Regions from separate parts of the Homo sapiens genome. Here regions 1, 3 and 4 are each linked to region 2. The links are contacts of gene promoters, found by promoter capture Hi-C in blood cells and fetal thymus (Javierre and others, 2016). All regions are on one chromosome and are shown on one strand. Each heading gives the region's core, a stretch centred on a gene start or on the middle of the fragment in contact. The rest is flanking DNA. Distances are from core to core; before and after follow the strand shown. Region 1 overlaps FAM187B (family with sequence similarity 187 member B). Region 2 holds the start of FXYD3 (FXYD domain containing ion transport regulator 3). Region 3 overlaps LOC105372379 (a long non-coding RNA gene). Region 4 has its middle 35 kb from the start of FXYD5.

Region 1 (2,964 bases), core at 116-2,615, 110 kb before region 2:
TATTCTCCTGTATTGCAACTCCTCGGGGGCGCACTGGTACTATTTATTCACACAAGGCAAGAAGGGCAGGCTCACCAGCCTCACCAATATTTCCAATATGGAAATAATGCCCGAGGGCAGCCTTCTCATTAAAGATCCATTGCCCTCCCAGACGGGCCTCTACCACTGCTGGAACAAGAATGGCCGCCAAGTGGTGCAGTATGAAATTGACTTTCAGGATGTCACCACCCTGCATATAACACACAAGGACCTGGGTCAGAGGCCCCTGCAGAACGAGACCCTGCATTTGGGCAGCAAACAGCTCATTTTTACCTGGTGGGAGCCCTGGCAGGACTGCAACCGCTGTGAGGAGCCGGGCGAGTGTAAACGCCTGGGGTACCGCTACATTGAGGAGCCTCTGGAGGAAGCCATGCCCTGCTGGCTCTATCTGGGAGAGGTGCTGGTGTGGTCTAGCCGCTTGCGGCCTGAGCTGCAGGTGGAAGCCTGCCACGTCCAGTGCACCAATAACACACAGTTAAGGGTGGATTACGTCATTTTTGACAACTTCAGGCTCGATGAGAAGACAGAATTTGTGTGGCTCGACTGTCCCTTAGGATCCATGTACAGGTGATGGAATCCCTGCCTCTGGCCCCTACCCAGATTCTTCCGGTCAGGGGATCCTTCCTGGTAATATGTGCAGAGGGATGAGTGGGCGTTCTTTGCAGTTCAGCCACGTAGTGGTCATCAGGACAGTGCCAGGCCCTGCTCTTAAACAGTCCGAGGGGGACACAGCCCAGGGTGGTGCGAGCCGGGATGGGAGAAGCCCAGGCAGACAGATGGGGCTGTGATGGGGGAAGCCCAGGAAGCTTAGGGGCTCCAACAGGCCCCTGCTTCATCTGGAAAGGTCAGTGAGACCTTGGAGGAGAGGCTGGTGCCCCCGGGGCTTCCCATCAAGGCCTGCCTCCCAGAACTCACACTCATCTTCTTACTTCCTGCCAGGAGCCTCTGGAAAATAGCCCCTTCCCCTCCTCTCCCCCAGTCCACCTGCCCCTTAATAAGAAATGCAGGCTGGGCGCGGTGGCTCATGCCTGTAATCCCAGCACTTTGGGAGGCCGAGGTGGGTGGATCACCTGAGGTCAGGAGTTCGAGACCAGCCTGGCCAACATGGTGAAACCCCGTCTCTACTAGAAATACAAAAATTAGCCAGGTATGGTGGCACGTGCCTGTAATCCCAGCTACTCAGGAGGCTGACGCAGGAGAATCACTTGAACCCGGGAGGCGGAGGTTGCAGTGAGCCGAGATCACACCACTGCACTCCAGCCTGGGCAACATCACGAGACAACTCTGACTCAAAAAACAAAAAAACAAAAAAACCCCAGAAATCCATTGTCTCACCCTTCTGGAGGCCGTAAGTCTGAAATCAAGGTGTCAGTAGAACCACGCTCCCTCTCAGTCCCTCTGAGTGAGCTGGGCAGAATCCTCCTTTTTTCTAGCTTCTGGATGCAGTCAGAGATCCCGGTCTTCTCTGGCTTGTGGCTGCTTCTCTCCAATGCCCGCCTCCATCATCACTTGGCATTCTTCCTGGGTGTCTGTGTCCCTGTCTCTCTTTTCCTTTTCTTAAAAGGACACCGGTCAGATGGGATTGAGGGCCCACCTTATTCCAATATGCTCTCATCTCAACTGATTATATCTGCAATGATCCAATTTCCAAATAATGTTACATTCTGAGGTTCTGGGAAGGACATGCATTTTGCGGGGGCCACTGTCTAACTCAGTGCAGAGGTCTTGCCAGCCCCTGGCCACACAGGGTCATTGTGATGTGTTAAGGGGACTAAAGACTGTAGAGTGCCTGCCATAGCATCCAATAAGAAGTTCCACAATGTACCTAGCTGGGAATGCAAGCTTTTATGATATTGTCTGTGGAATATCCTCTCTGTTCTTCCACCACGCTGGGTGTGTCGGTGCCTGATTCATTTCTCCACTAAACACGTGTTCACTGCATATTTATATGCCAAGCTCCATTCTAGGGACCTGGGAAACAGTGAAGAACACAACCAACGGAGATTCTTGCCCTTGTGGCGCATAAATATATAGTTTTATTATTATTATTGTTATTATTATTAGAGACAGGGTCTTGCTCTTTCACCCTGGCTGGAGTACAGTGGCACAATCACAGCTCACTGCAGCCTCAATTCCCCGGGCTCAGGTGATTCTCCCATCTCAGCCTCCACAGTAGCTGGGACTACAGACATGCACTACCACACCCGGCTAAGTTTTTAAGTTTTGTAGAGATGAGGTCTCACTTTGTTGCCCAGGCTGAGCCCAAACTCCTGGGCTCAAGTGATCCTCCCACATCGGCCTCCCAAAGTGCTGGGATTACAAACCTGAGCCACTGTGCCCGACCTATAGTATTTTGGATGGTGACGGAGCAGGAAGGGATGCTGGGAATAGGGGAGGTTAAAAGTGTCAAGTGGTGGGGTCAGGGAAGGCTCCTCTGAGAAGCTGCCATTTCAGCCCAGACTGAAAGGAGGCGAGGAAGCCCTGGGGACAGAGGGAACAGCCAGGGCCAAGACTGCACCCAGCATGTCAGAGGAACATCTAGGAGAGCAGCGTGGCTAGGCAGAGTGAGTAAAGGGGAGAGTGAAGGAGATGAGACCAGACAGGCAAAGGCAGGTGGACAAATCATTTAAGGAGTGCCCTTGCTAACTCCTCCAAATAACCTTATGAGGTACAATCATTACTCTCCATTTTTTTTGGTTTGTTGTTTTCTTTTTTGGGACAGGGTCTTGCTCTGTCACCCAGGCTGGAGTGCAGTGCTGTGACTGGCTCACTGCAGCCTCAACCTCCTGGGCTCAAGTAATCCTCCCACCTCAGCCTCCTGAGCAGCCAGGACCACAGGCGCATGTCAGCATGTCCAGCTAATTTTTTAAATTTTTGCAGACATGGGTTCTTGCTTTGTTGTCCAGGCTGGTTCTGAACTCCTGG
Region 2 (2,948 bases), core at 250-2,749:
TATACCCCCTTCCCATGATGTCATCCAGCCAAGACTGACAGATGGTATCCTCCTCGCCCCAGCCTCTGCAAAACAACGTCCAGTCCCATGCTTCCGGAGGCTGCAGGGAGCCGGGAGCTGGGTCTGCCCTCACGTTCCCCATTCAGGCTGTTGTCTGAAGAGGCTGTGGGCTGCTCCCGAACTGATGTGGTTGGTGAGCAGGTTAGAGAGGAAGGCAGCCCTGCAGCTGATGCTCTGTCTACCTGCTCTCATCCTTCCTGGCCATGAGGTCCCAAGGCCGGCCTGAGGACTGTTTCCCCCACCTGCCCTCTGCTATCCCCTCTATTCCTCCATACCATGGGAGAATGGTCTCATGTTCAGGGGTGGGTAGAAAGATCCTGCCCGCTGTGTGCTCCTGAAATCTCCCAAGCAACTCCCCATTTAAAGCTTCCCCCAGCAGCTCCATCCTTTTTTCCTGGAGGTCTCCAGAATCCAGATCCCTCAATGTCTGGACACCCCGAGTCCACCCAGCACTCCTTATCCACCCAGATCCCTCAATGTCTGGACACCCCGAGTCCACCCAGCATTCCTCATCCACCCAGATGTCCCCAGTCCATCTACGCACCCCTGGTCCACTTAGATACCCCTACCTACCCAGGCACCCCCTCTCCTCCACCCAGCTATCCCCAACCCAGATATCCCTAATCCATGCAGACACTAGTCTTTCAGACACCCCAACCACACTTATCAGTCCTGCCCTCACCTCAGCTGGTTCAACAAGTCCCTGAGAGGAGAATGGTGGGGAAAGGGACATTAGGGGAAGGGACTTCCGTTTATCTCCTGGCTCCAGAAAAGCATTTCACAAGATTTTAGGCGCTTTAACATAAAAGCTTCTATGGGGCAGGGTCAGGGGGCAGGTAGATACTTCCTAATTTAGGGGCAGAGACAAGGAGGGCTTGGAGGAAGGGGCCCCAGCTGCTCACCTGTGTGGTTCACCAGGCTGAGCAGAGGTTCCGGGAGAAATCGGGCTGCCAGGCGGAGTCCTGCGTTTATCCGAAGCTGCCACGCCCTAAGCAAACCTGGGCAGGTAGAAAACAAGTCAGATGCCCTGAGGCCCAGGGGCTCCATTCCTGCTCTTAAAGAGACAGCTTCACCCCCTCCCCAGCCATGGGCGGCAGGTTGCTCCCTGGGGTCACCAGGACCACAGCAGCCTCAGGTGAGACGGAGAATTGGATGGGCTGGAACTCGGCCCCTGGAATTAAGGGAGGAGCTTTCTCCAATCTCCTGTGCCCAGGAGAGGACCTTGAATGGGGAAGGTTCTGGGGTCTTTAAACGGCAGAGCCTCCAGGGCCATGCAGTGAGATGATGCGTTGGTGTTCCGACCTCACTTCTTTTCCTTAGATGATGTGTTTTGCCTGGTGGAAGGATTGCTGGCAGTTGTGGAGAACTTAAAGTCCCCTTCCAGGCCACATCTTGCCGCTGGTACAATTTCAGGATCAGCAGAAGATGCTAGCGTGACCAAAGTCAGGAGATGGGGCAGGGGTGGATATGAGGGAGCGGCTGGAACAGCAGGGAGGGGTCAGGGTGGGGACTCTGGGACCTTAGTCCTGGTCATAACCTGCTCCCTGCCCTGGGGAGAATGAGAACTGTCTGCCAGGCACCAGGCTGCAGTTTCCTAGCCAGGCTCTTTCCGTGGGTGCTGGGAGCCAGACGCCTGGGTCTACAGAGTGGGTGCTGGTGGGGGCGGCTGCCTCCTAGTCCACATAAGGCCCCCAGCACTGTACAAGCCTCCCTCCCCCTTTCCTCCCCTGTCTCCTGCTCCTCCTCCTCCAGGCATTCCTTCCGGATGGGGTCTGTGCAGGCTCCCCCATGGTCCCAGTTGGGGGTGCCCCCTCCCCTCAATTCCGCCTTCTTAGACAGAGGGACTTTTGTCTGGGGGCTGGATGGAGAACAAGGATCCTTTGAGCGGTTGGCGGAGGATTGGGGTCACGGGGAGGGGTAGGGCCAGGAAAGGGGTAGCTCTGCCCTGGACACCAGCTGGACTCCAGGCGACCCCAACACCACCGTGGGGGCGGGGAGGAGGGCTGCAGGGCCTGGCCAGGGAGAAGCAGCTGCTGGGAGTGTGGAGCACAGGACAGGAAAAGGGGGTTTGGGTCAAGGCTCTTCCGGAAACTGGCCTGCTGGGGGCAGAGAGAAGGACCCCCCACTTGTCATCGCTGAGGGATCGGGGAGGGCAATGTTCGCCCAGCGCTACACCCCTTCTCTATGTGGTTCCCTGGGGCAAGTTGTCAAGCCCAGGTCCTAGACAAGGGTAAGGCTCCCTCCTACCACTCTTAAGGCGGGGCCAGTTCCCATAAGGAAGCCGGGCGGGGGGACCTCGGGGTAGGGCTCTAAGCAACAGGTCCAGGAGGAGATAGAAACAGGAAGGGGAGGCCCGGAGGCCAACTCAGTATAGCTAAGGGGGGTCTTTGTGTCTGGGCGGATAGCGTCTCTTCCCTAGACCCTTGAAGCTTGTGTCTGGGACGACCCCTTGGTGGTCTTGGGAGTGGAATGGTGTCTCCCTCTGCTGGGAAGCCTGGGAACTGCAGGCATCCGAGAGCGAGTAGGGGCGTGTACAGGGTGGCTGGGAAGGGCGGGGGGTGCTCTGCCCTTCACCGGAACGGGGTGAACTGGAGAACTGTTGTCTAAAAATCTTGGAGGAACACCCCTGCCCGTGGTTAGATACAGAAGTATTTCCCAGACAGCTTGCTAAGGGGAAAAAAAACAAGGTATTGGGAAACCGTGCAGTGTGCTACCATTTGTGAGCGGTAAAATAATGCATATGTATATACTTGTAATGAATAAAATATTTTTGGAGATTGGCATCCATACCCATGGCTTCTGGAGAGGGAAACTGGGAGGCTGGAGGGTGGGGTGGAAGTGAGACTCACTCATTATCACGTGCCCTCTTATATTTTTTGAATTTTGCA
Region 3 (3,339 bases), core at 660-3,159, 93 kb before region 2:
TGAGCCACCGTGCCCACCTAATTTTTAATTTTTTTTTTTTTGTAGAGACAGGGTCTCACTATGTGGCCCAGGCTGGTCTCAAACTCCTAACCTCAAGTGATCCTCCCACGTTGGCCTCCCACATGGTGGGATTACAGGCGTGGGCCACCACGCCCAGCTGCCTCTGCATGTCTTAAGGAGATGTTTATGCCACTGATTTGTGATTGTCAACGTTACCACAGAGCCCTTCTCTGTTGACTTCCTGCCCTGGAAGGGGAGGAGTGGATTCAGACCACTCCCCTTCTGATGTAATGATGCCACGCAACCTCCCTGGTCTCAGGGTCCACATCTGTGAATGAGAATAACAGTATCTATCTCAGAAGGTTGTAGTGAGGAGTGAACAAATTCATTCACACGAAGCACTGAGAACGGGCTTTGCCCACAGTACAGGCAGTGTGTGAACTCTCACTGTTGTTCATAACTATGATCATCATCACTTTTATTTTATTTTATTTTATTTTATTTTATTTTTTGACACGGAGTCTCACTCTGTCACCCGGGCTGGAGTGCAGTGATATGATCTCAGATCACTGCAACCTCTGCCTCCCGGGTTCAAGTGATTCTCCTGAGTAGCTGGGATTACAAGCATGCGCTGTCACGCCTGGCTAATTTTTGTATTTTTGGTAGAGATGGTGTTTCACCATGTTGGCCAGGCTGGTCTCAAACTCCTGACCTCAGGTGATCGATCCACCTGCCTCAGCTTCCCAAAGTGCTGGGATTACAGGCGTGAGCCACCGCACCTGGCCCCATCATCTAGATTCTACAATTGTTAACATTTTTCTGTATTTACTTTATTACATATCTATCAGTCCATTCCTCTATCAAGTCATCTGATTTTTTAAAAATGTATTTTTAAAGAAGGTTAAAGAATTTTAAAGCAGACATCAGTACTCTTTACCCTTAAACATTTCAGGATTCATATCACCAACTGGAGTTCAATGTTTGCAGTTATCTTTGAGATTTTATAAATTTGCATGCAATGAAATGCACACATATGAAACATCCATTTGCTGAATTTCTTAGTATTGTCATTATTATTTAGAGATGCGCTCCCACTCTGTACCCCAGACTGGAGTGCAGTGGTGTGATCATAGTTTACTGCAGCCTTGACCTCCTGGGCTCAAGCGATCCTTCTGCCTCAGCCTTGAAAGTAACTGGTACTACAGAAATATGCCACCACGCCTGGCTAATTTTTTTTTTTTTTCTCCACAGGGTGAGTTCTATGCCTGGGGAATTAAAACAATTTTTTTTTTAAAAGAGATAAGGTCTTTCTGTGTTGCACAGACTGGTCTTGACCTCCTGGCCTCAAGTGATCCCCATGCATCAGCCTCCTCAGTAGCTGAGATTACAGGCATGAGCCACTGTTCCCATCTCCATTTGCTGAGTTTTGACCAATGAATGCACTTATGTAATAAGTATACGCTTCTGCTTTAGACTACAAGCCCCTGTTAAGATAAAGAACATCTCCGTGACCCCTGCAAAATCCCCTTATGCCCCTTCCCAGATAATCCCCACCTCCACTCCATCCCCAAAGGCAATCATGGTTTTGATATTTTTATACCTTTACTTTAAATTTTCAGGATGGATGACAGGTGTGTGCTGGGAGGGACCTTAGTTAAATTTTGTGATTGGCGGCTAGAATTGAAAAAAAACAAAAACAAAAACAAAAAAACAAAAAAATACCTCATTGCGGCCAGGCGTGGTGGCTCATGCCTGTAATCCCAGCACTTTGGGAGGCCAAGGTGGGCGGATAGCTTGAGGTCAGGAGTTTGAGACCAGCCTGGCCAACATAGTGAAACCCCATCTCTACTAAAAATACAAAACTTAGCCCAATGTGGTAGTGGGCACCTGTAATCTTAACTACCTGGGAGGCTGAGGCAGGAGAATTGCTGGAACCAGGAGGTTGTAGTGAGCTGAGATGGCACCACTTTACTCCAGCCTGGGCAACAGAGCAAGACTCCATCTTAAAAAAAAAAAAGAAAACCTCGTTGCTCCCTCCTGTGGAATATGGATACCTAATTAACATGATCACATACAGCAATGACTGGCTTGGAGGGGAGGAGGCATCCTCAGTGCTGAAAGGTGGGACAATGTCCACTGAGGGCTCTGGTCCTAGCACTGAATGAGCCAGGCTCTTTCAATTCCTGGATAAGCACTTGTTCACCCATTGTATGTGGACCACTTACCCTGGCTGCCTCATGTAGGATGCTGTTGGCTGCAAGTAAGAGAAGAATAAATTCCAAACATCTTAAAACAATAAGGATGCCAGGCACAGTGGCTCGTGCCTGTAATCCCAGCACTTTGGGAGGCCGAGGCAGGCAGATCGCGAGGTCAGGAGATTGAGATCATCCTGGCTAACACGGTGAAACCCCGTCTCTACTAAAAATCCAAAAAAATAACTAGGCATGGTGGCGGTCGCCTGTAGTCCCAGCTACTCGGGAGGCTGAGGCAGGAGAATGGCGTGAACTCAGGAGATTGAGATCATCCTGGCTAACACGGTGAAACCCCGTCTCTACTAAAAATCCAAAAAAATAACTAGGCATGGTGGCGGTCGCCTGTAGTCCCAGCTACTCGGGAGGCTGAGGCAGGAGAATGGCGTGAACTCAGGAGGTGGATCTTGCAGTGAGCCGAGATCGCGCCACTGCACTCCCGCCTGGGGGACAGAGCCAGACTCCATCTCAAAAAAAAAAAGCAATAAGGACACGTATTATTTTACAGAACTGCTGGTCCCCCAAAGGCGGGGAGGTTCTCCAGGGGTCAATGCATCAGTTGAATGATGTTCTTATAGACTCAGGCTCCTCAGCATGTGGGCAATGTCATCCCTCACGGTGGTAACGTGGCTGCCACAGCCCCAGCCATCATTTCCTATAGGTGCAAAGCATCACAACCGTATACTTCCTCTTGCTAAAATCCTACTCTACCCATTTCCTTTCTGTATTTTCAGTGTTTAGCCTCTCTGATTCTGCTCTTACTACTAACTCATGAGATTTCAACTCATGGCGACTATAGGTGCTCCGAAGTGCTAATGAAAGAAATTGCAGAAAGAAAAGAAGAAAAATGATGTCTTTCTCTGTGGCTTCAGAATCATCCTCAGCATCATAAAACTCTGTTTGCAAATATTCTTTGCAGGCCGCAGGGACTTCAGAGATCATCAGTATGTCTTGTCAAAGAAACTTTAACATTCCAGCATCTGTGATTCTGGGACTAATACTTAAATTGCATGTAGATTCTGAAAAGGATAAATATTTGTGAATTTTTTGTTAAACCAGAGGAATATTTTTACTACCCCCTCTTCTTCAA
Region 4 (2,935 bases), core at 285-2,784, 74 kb before region 2:
TAGAACTTTTTTTTTTTTGAGACATAGTCTCACTCTGTCACCCAGGCTGGAGTGCAATAGCACAATCATAGCTCACTGAAACCTCAAACTTCTGGGCTCACGTGAAATTTTTTGTAGAGATGAGGTCTTGCTATGTTGCCCAGGTTGGTCTTGAACTCCTTGCCTCAAGTGATCCTCCTGCTCTGGCATCCCAAAGTGCTGAGATAACAGGCATGAGCCACCATACCTGGCCAGCATTAAACTAGAAATCAATAACAGGAAGATAACAGGACAATCTTTAATCATTTGAAAAATAGGACATTCCAAAGGGAATTAGGAAATATTTGTAGCTGAAAGAAAGTAAGAAACCTATCAAAATTTGTGGAATTCTGTTAAAGAAGTGCTTATATAAAAATGTATAGTCTTAAATGTTGATTATATTAGAAAAGAAGAAAGATCTCAAGTCAATAATCTAAGTTTTCACCATAGGAAATTAGAAAATGAAGAGCAAAATAAACCCAAATGAAGAGCAAGGAAAAAATAAGTGCAAAAATCAATGAAAACAAAAAAGCAATAGAAGAAATCAGTAAAACCAAAAGCTGTTTCTTTGAAAAGATCAGTAAAATTGATAAACCTCTAACAAGACTGAGGAGAGAAGAAGGGAGAGAAAGAGATAGAGGTAGAGATAAAGAGAGAAGAGAGAGAAGGGAGGGATTATCAATATTAGGGTAGAAAGAGGACAGCTATCACCACAGACCCTATAATTATTAAAAAGCTTATAAAGGAATATCAGTAATAACTCTATACACATAAATATCAAAATTTAGATGAAATGGACCAATTTCTCAAAAACTACCAGCTACTACATTCACCACTGTTGAAATAGATAATATGAATAGTCTAGTAACTATTAAATAAATTGCATGTATAGTTAATGCCATTTTAAAAAATCTCCTGGCCCAGGTGGTTTCAATGGTTTTAAATAAGTAATTTAAAGAAGAAATAGCACTAATTCTTCATAATTTCTTCCAGAAAATACAAAAGGAGAAATACTCTCCAACTCATGTTATGAAGCCAGCATTACCCTGATGACAAACCAGATAGACAGTACAAAAAATAATAATAAACACAACTAAAATACTCCTCATGAATATAGATGCAAAAATACTCAATAAAATGTTAGCAAATTGAACTCGGCAATATGTAAAATGAGTAGTAAACTATGACCGGCCGGGCGCGGTGGCTCACACCTGTAATCCCAGCACTTTGGGAGTCTGAGGTGGGCGGATCACCTGAGATCAGGAGTTCAAGACCAGACTGACCAACATGGAGAAAACTCATCTCTACTAAAAATACAAAATTAGCCAGGCATGGTGGTGCACAGCCTGTAATCCCAGCTACTTAGGAGGATGAGGCAGGAGAATCACTTGAACCCAGGAGGCAGAGGTTGGGGTGAGCCGAGATCCTGCCATTGCACTCCAGCCTGGGCAACAAGAGTGAAACTCTGTCTCAAAATAATAATAATAATAAATGAATAAATACAATAAACTATGACCAAATGGGATTTATACTAAGAATGCAACAATGGTCCAATTTTTTAAAATCAATCACTATTACCATATTAACCATCTAAAGAAGAAAAATCATGATTATATCAATAGGTGCAGACAAAGTATTGACAAAATAAAACACTCATACATGTTTTGTTTTGTTTTGCAAAAAATAATCCTAGCAAACTAGGAATAGAAGAGAACTTCATCAACCTGATAAAGAGCATCAAAAAGCCTACAGCTAATATCATACCAAACAGTGAAAAATGAATGCTTTCTTTCTTAAGATTGGGAACAAGACAAGCATGTTCACCATTTCTATTCAACATCATATTGAAAGTCTTAGCCAGTGTAATAAGTCAAGAAATGGAAGTAAGAGGCATATAGATTGGGAAGGAAAAAATAAAACTGTTCCCATCCCCAGTTGAAATGATTGTTTATGTAGAAAATCTCAATAAATATAAAATCAATCAATAAATAAAACAAAAAACCCCTGGCACTAATAAAGAAATTTTGTAGGAAACACAAGCTAATATGGCAGATGTAAATCCAATTGTATAAATAATAACATTAAATGTTGATGAAATGAACAATTCAATTAAAAGTCAAATATTTCAGACTAGATTTTTTTTAAAAACCAAGATACAGCCAAAAGCTATCTATAGGAAAAACATGTAAGATTCAAAAATGTAAAGTAAAATGATGAAAGACAATATATCAATATATCATGCAGTGACTACAAGAAAGCTGGAGTGGCAATACTAACGTCAGAAAAAATAAGCTTTGTAACAAAAAAGTTATTACAGATAAAGAGAAGCATTGTATAATGATAAGGCGGTCAGTCCATCAGAATATATAACAATATAAACACATATACATCTAATAATAAAGCACCAAAATACATAAAGCAAAAACTAATAAAAATGAATAGAGAAATGAACAAATCCACAATAATAGTTGGAGACTTCAGTACCTCACTTCCAATAATGGATAGAACAACTAGGCATAAAATCAACAAGAAAATGGAAGATCTGAACAGTATTAATCAACCAGATATAACAGACAACTATAGCACACTTCTCCCAACAAAAGCAGAATACACAATCTTCTCGACTGCACGGAGAATATTCTGTAGGATAGAACCTGCACTAGGCAACAAAACAAATCTGTATAAAATTTTGATTTTAAAATTAAAATCAAAATCATGCGGCTGGGCACAGTGGCTCATGCCTGTAATCATAGAACTTTGGGAGGTTCAGGTGAGAGGATCACCTGAGGTCAGGAGTTCGAGACCAGCCTGGCCAACATGGCGAAACCCTGTCTCTACTAAAAATACAAAAATTAGCCAGGCATGGTGGCGATCTGCAATCTCCACCTCCTGGGTTCAAGCGATTCTCCTGCCTCAG

The links. The method cuts DNA at HindIII sites, captures the fragments that hold promoters and counts their contacts. A CHiCAGO score of 5 or more calls a contact.
Region 1: a contact is called between a fragment that was not itself captured here and the fragment with the promoter of FXYD3 in region 2, in 2 of 17 cell types (naive B cells and total B cells). The highest score is 6.6, in naive B cells.
Region 3: a fragment that was not itself captured here is called in contact with the fragment with the promoter of FXYD3 in region 2 in 2 of 17 cell types (total B cells and total CD8 T cells); the score reaches 6.9 in total B cells.
Region 4: a fragment that was not itself captured here is called in contact with the fragment with the promoter of FXYD3 in region 2 in 1 of 17 cell types (total B cells); the score reaches 5.3 in total B cells.

What each region holds. Positions count from the first base shown.
Region 1 is chr19:35,225,601-35,228,564 of GRCh38, reverse strand. It overlaps FAM187B (family with sequence similarity 187 member B), which reads left to right. Exons shown (of 2, transcript NM_152481.2): 1 at 1-606. Among named protein-coding and RNA genes, the nearest start is that of FAM187B, 1.7 kb to the left of the region's middle. The HindIII fragment of the contact is 1,036 bases long and covers 848-1,883 here.
Region 2 is chr19:35,114,374-35,117,321 of GRCh38, reverse strand. FXYD3 (FXYD domain containing ion transport regulator 3) reads right to left here and starts at 1,499. Exons shown (of 9, transcript NM_005971.4): 1 at 1,363-1,499; 2 at 963-1,058. The HindIII fragment of the contact is 1,620 bases long and covers 872-2,491 here.
Region 3 is chr19:35,207,862-35,211,200 of GRCh38, reverse strand. The region is part of intron 2 of LOC105372379 (a long non-coding RNA gene); the gene reads right to left. Among named protein-coding and RNA genes, the nearest start is that of FAM187B, 19 kb to the left of the region's middle. The HindIII fragment of the contact is 5,425 bases long and covers 1-3,339 here.
Region 4 is chr19:35,188,530-35,191,464 of GRCh38, reverse strand. No RefSeq gene overlaps it. Among named protein-coding and RNA genes, the nearest start is that of FXYD5, 35 kb to the right of the region's middle. The HindIII fragment of the contact is 1,556 bases long and covers 757-2,312 here.